Regions from separate parts of the Homo sapiens genome. Here region 2 is linked to region 1. The links are contacts of gene promoters, found by promoter capture Hi-C in blood cells and fetal thymus (Javierre and others, 2016). All regions are on one chromosome and are shown on one strand. Each heading gives the region's core, a stretch centred on a gene start or on the middle of the fragment in contact. The rest is flanking DNA. Distances are from core to core; before and after follow the strand shown.

Region 1 (2,700 bases), core at 169-2,668:
CATTCCAGCCATAGATACATTTAGGAGTCCCCAGGCTAAGACCACTTTCCTAGCCTCTGTTTCTTTTCTCATCTTGATGGTTCTGTCAATAAGGGAAGCACTAGGGTGTGCCTCCCCCTGCATCTATGAAAAAACAAAAAGCACAGGAATTAACCAGAAGAAACTATTGCTCCATTTAAAAACCAAATTTTGCATCCCTTATAAAGGTAACTGAAACCGCATATACCTTCTCTCATCTTTAAAATGTTTTATCAAAACTTCTTCCATTTTAATATCAGTATATGAAAAGGGAACCCAAAATTATATGTAACTTAATTGGCATCACAGTGTAATCAACAGAGAAGTGGCTGGTTATTTATCTATTTATTTGTTTTGAGACGGAGTCTTGCTGTCTCCCAGGCTAGAATGCAGTGGCGCGATCTCGACTCACTGCAACCTCCGCCTCCCGGGTTCAAGCGATTCTCCTGCCTCAGACTCCCGAGTAGCTGGGATTACAGACGCCCGCCACCGCGTCCGACTGATTTTTGTATTTTTAGTAGAGACGGGATTTCAACATTTTGGCCAGGCTGGTCTCGAACTCCTGACCTTGTGATCCACCCGCCTCGGCCTCCCAAAGTGTTGGGATTACAGGCGTGAGCCACCGCGCCCAGCCGTGGCTGGTTATTTAAGAACAATTTAATACTTCCAATACATAAAAATGTCTTATTTTGTAATTTAAGGGTTATGTCTAGAAATACTTTGTATTTTGTCTTTGGGGTATGTTACACGGACTAGGCAAAAGGCTAACTTCAGAAACTCAAAATGTCAAGTTTTGGGAGACTATATTCCATATCTGCTGTAAGTCATAAAGACTGTTGTACATCCTCATGCAGACGCCATTACTATCTCAACAACTCTGCACTTGGACAGCTGTACTCCAGGGCTCTCCCTTTTGTGTGTGGATAAAGGACAAGGATCCAAGTTTTAGAAGGGCACGTACTTATGATGGGGTGGTGAGCGGAGTAAGAGGGAGAGAGGGGAAAACGTGCATTGTTTTGGTCCACATTTGGGATTTATAATTCCTCCTTTCTTCAGCTAGGCTCAACTCTTACAGACCGTGCAAAACTTGTTCCAGCGACAAGCAGTCGTATCCCACAGAGGACAGAGCAATAGCTTTCGCGCCACTCAGCCCCCGCGTCCCAATTTCCCAGTCCAGAGCTTCCCTCCCCGGCTCCTGGGCACGAACTTCAGCAACCCTATTGCTTCTTTCTTCCCTTCCCCTAGAGAGGCGGAACGCCTAGCCACATCCCCCTTGGCTGAACCCAGGACAGATCAGCAGGCGCGGAACTCCCACAACCCGCGTAGATTCCAAGACAGGAAGCACAAACACGACCCCGAAAACGCACCATGTCCTCTGGCCGGAAAACGCAGGCTCGCGCCACTCTCTCTGGGCATGCGCAAAGCCAAGCTCAAGCGGGAGGCCACCGGCAAGCGGCTCTAAAGTTACCGGAAGAACTAGGTAGTCTCTTCTCGCGAGAAAGGGAGGGGTCGCAGGCCCAGGCGCTCGGAGCGTTACCAGGGAAACAGGTCTCGGTTTTGCGGCTCCCACTCAGCTGCGGGAGAAAGCTAAGCAGCAAAATTCAGACCAGGCTCTGAACCCGCAGTAAAAAGTAATAATTGTAACAAGCTGAATTTTGTATCTATTAATATAATTTTAGCTTCCCTAGGGCATTTATGGACTCACATGTGTAAACTGATTAAGTAGGGCGGCTCACCGTAGGATAGAGTGGCGTGATAAAGTGGCCAGACACCATCAGTGACAAAGCATTTCTTTCCCCTGTGTTAAAGTATCTATGTCAAGAGTCCTGACCCCATGTAATTTTTTTTTTGGTAGAGACAGGGTTTCGCCATGTTGGCCAGTCTGGTCTCGATTTCCTAACCTCAAGGGATCCGCCCGCCTCAGCCTCCCAAACGCCTGCTGGCCTCCCACCGCCTTTTGGGATTACAGGCGTGGCCCACCGCGCCCGGCCTAAATTCTTAATCTGTTTAATAGGGTGCAGCAATAACAAGCACACCCAAAATTTGTTTTATTGAAGTTGCTAGTGGTTTTGAGGTTAAAAATAATAACACATTTTCGTATGTATTTTTTGGAAGAGCTGCTCATCCTGAGGAAAAGGTTGAGCTTTGTTTTATTTAGCACAAATACCTACAAGTGTGCCGCTGAGCCAGGCGCACGGATATAGAAAATAAGACCTTCCTGGTTATTACCCAGAGGAGCTCAACCCCAGCGGAGGCCCACAGATGCATTTCGGTGGCAGGTGAGGTGGATGCAGTGCTCCCCAAGGAGGCGCATCCAGCCCAGCCCCAGCTCTCGCGAGCTTCCTGGAGGAGATGACGCGTTAGAGTCCACAGCCAGAAACCCAGGGCCTGGGGACTTGTTCTGAAGTGTGCCTCCTAATAAAAACATTAAGCCATGCCACAGTAAGCTAGTGGATTACATCATGTATGTCCAATGGCCAAAGTTTTTCCTAAAATGATCCTAAGATTAATACCACGTGGTATTGTATATTAATGAAAATCGGCAGGTATGCTGTGCTCTTGAAGAGCTGTTAAGTTTTATCATTTTTAGATTGCTTTAGCAGCAATGTTGTTTTGCTCTAGTTTTAGATTTAGAGATGAACTAACTGGAAAATTGTTCAAAGTGAAAGGGCTCAAGGTGCA
Region 2 (2,700 bases), core at 20-2,519, 560 kb after region 1:
CCTTTGGGTATATGCCCAGTAATGGGATTGCTGGGTCAAATGGTATTTCTAGTTCTAGATCCTTGAGGACTCGCCACACTGTTTTCCACAATGGTTGAACTAATTTACACTCCCACCGACAGTGTAAAAGCGTTCCTATTTCTCCACATCCTCTCCAGCACCTGTTGTTTCCTGACTTTTTAATGATTGCCATTCTAACTGGTGTGAAATGGTTTCTCACTGTGGTTTTGATTTGCATTTCTCTAATGGCCAGTGATGATGAGCATTTTTTCATATGTCTGTTGGCTGCATAAATGTCTTCTTTTCATAAGTATCTGTTCATATCCTTTGCCCATTTTTTGATGGGGTTGTTTTTTCCTGGTAAATTTGGTTAAGTTCTTTGTAGATTCTGGATATTAGCCCTTTGTCAGATGGATAGATTGCACAAATTTTCTCCCATCCTGTAGGTTGTCTGTTCACTCTGATGATAGGTTCCTTTGCTATGCAGAAGCTCTTTAGTTTAATTAGATCCTGTTTGTCAATTTTGTCTTTTGTTGCCATTGCTTTTGGTGTTTTGGACGTTAAGTCTTTGCCCATGCCTATGTCCTGATGGTATTGCCCAGGTTTTCTTCTAAGATTGTTATGGTCCTGGGTCTTATGTCTAAGTCTTTGATCCATCTTGAGTTGATTTTTGTAGAAGGGGTAAGGGCATTTCCGTTTTCTGCATATGGCTAGCCAGTTTTCCCAACACCATTTGTTAAATAGGAAATCTTTTTCCCCATTGCTTGTGTGTGTCAGGTTTGTCAAAGATCAGATGGTTGTAGCTGTGTGGCATTGTTTCTGAGGCCTCCGTTCTGTTCTGTTGGTCTATATATCTGTTTTAGTACCAGTACCATGCTGTTTTGGTTACTATGGCCTTGTAGTATAGTTTGAAGTCAGGTAGTGTGATGCCTTGAGCTTTGTTCTTCTTCCCCAATATTGTCTTGGCTATGTGGGCTCCTGTTTGGTTCCATATGAAGTTTAAAGTAGTTTTTTTTTCAATTCTGTGAAGAAATTCAGTGGTAGCTTGATGGGGATAGCATTGAATCTATAAATTACTTTGGGCAGTATGGCCATTTTCACAATACTGATTCTGCCTCTCCATGAGCGTGGAATGTTTATCTATTTGTTTGTGTCCTCTTTTATTTCCTTGAGCAGTGGTTTGTAGTTATCCTTGAAGAGTTCCTTCACACCCGTTGTAAGTTGGATTCCAAGGTATTTTATTCTCTTAGTAGCAATTGTGGATGCGAGTTCACTCATGATTTGGCTCTCTGTTATTGGTGTATAGGAATGTTTGTGATTTTTGCACAGTGGTTTTGTATCCTGAGACTTTGCTGAAGTTGCTTATCATCTTAAGGAGATTTTGGCTGAGACGATGGGGTTTTCTAAGTATACAATCATGTCATCTGCAAACAGACAATTTGATTTCCTATTTTCCTAATTGAATACCCTTTATTTCTTTCTCTTGCCTGATTGTCCTGGCCAGAACTTCCAACACCATGTTGAATAGGAGTGGTGAGAGAGGCATCCTTGTCTTGTGCCAGTTTTCAAAGGGAGTGCTTCCAGGTTTTGCCCATTCAGTATGATTTGGCTGTGGGTTTGTCATAAATAACTCCTATTATTTTGAGATATGTTCCATCAATACCTAGTCTGAGAATTTTTAGCATGAAGGGCTGCTGAATTTTGGCAAAGGCCTTTTCTGCGTCTATTGAGATAATCGTGTTTTTTGTCATTGGTTCTGTTTATGTGATGGATTACATTTATTGATTTGCATATGTTGAACCAGCCTTGCATCCCAGGGATGAAGCCAAGTTGATCGTGGTGGATAAGCATTTTGATGTGCTGCTGGATTCAGTTTACCAGTATTTTATTGAGGATTTTTGCGTTGATATTCATAAGGGATATTGGCCTAAAGTTCTCTTTTTTTGTTGTGTCTCTGCCGTGCTTTGGTATCAGGATGATCCTGGCCTCATGAAATGAGTTAGGGAGATTCCCTCTTTTTCTATTGACTGGAATCGTTTCAGAAGGAATGGAAGCATCTCCTCTTTGTACCTCTGGTAGAATTCAGCTGTGAATCTGTCTGGTCCTGGACTTTTTTTGGTTGGTAGGTTAGTAATTATTGCCTCAATTTCAGAACCTGTTATTGGTCTGTTCAGAGATTCAGCTTCTTCCTGGTTTAGTCTTGGGAGGGTGTATGTGTCCTGTTATTTATCCGTTTCTTCTATATTTTCTAGTTTATTTGCATAGAGGTGAGCTTTATTTATTTAGGTGCTCCAATGTTGGGTGCATATATATTTACAATCATTATATCTTCTTGATTAATTGGCCTTGTAATCATTATATAATGACCTTCTTTGTTTCACTTTATAGTGTCAACTTAAAGTCTGTTTTATCTGATACGAGGTTAGTTACCTCTGTTCTCTTTTGGTTTCCATTTTCATGGATTATCTTTCTCAATATTTTCACTTTCAATCAATGTATGTCCTTAAAAGTGAAGTGAGGCCAGGCATACTGGCTCATGCTTGTAATCGCAGCACTTTGGGAGGCTGAGGTGAGCAGATAACTTGAGGTCAGGAGTTCCAGACCAGCCTGGGCAACATAGTGAAACCCTGTCTCTACTAACAAAAAACCAAAAAAAAAAAAAAATTAGCTGGGCATGGTGGTGTGCGCCTGTAATCCCAG

What was found. Contacts are between HindIII fragments. The CHiCAGO score rates a contact against its expected background, and 5 or more counts as called.
Region 2: a fragment that was not itself captured here is called in contact with the fragment with the promoter of TMEM209 in region 1 in 1 of 17 cell types (naive CD8 T cells); the score reaches 5.4 in naive CD8 T cells.

The regions. Positions count from the first base shown.
Region 1 is chr7:130,203,988-130,206,687 of GRCh38, forward strand. TMEM209 (transmembrane protein 209) reads right to left here and starts at 1,419. Exons shown (of 15, transcript NM_032842.4): 1 at 1,386-1,419; 2 at 1-123. The coding sequence starts at 1,388. It also overlaps a transcript of SSMEM1 not described here. RefSeq lists a silencer at 1-196 and enhancers at 858-1,657, 1,334-1,513, 1,574-1,683. The HindIII fragment of the contact is 16,046 bases long and covers 1-2,700 here.
Region 2 is chr7:130,764,953-130,767,652 of GRCh38, forward strand. The region is part of intron 3 of LOC105375508 (a long non-coding RNA gene); the gene reads left to right. Among named protein-coding and RNA genes, the nearest start is that of KLF14, 32 kb to the left of the region's middle. The HindIII fragment of the contact is 4,409 bases long and covers 1-2,700 here.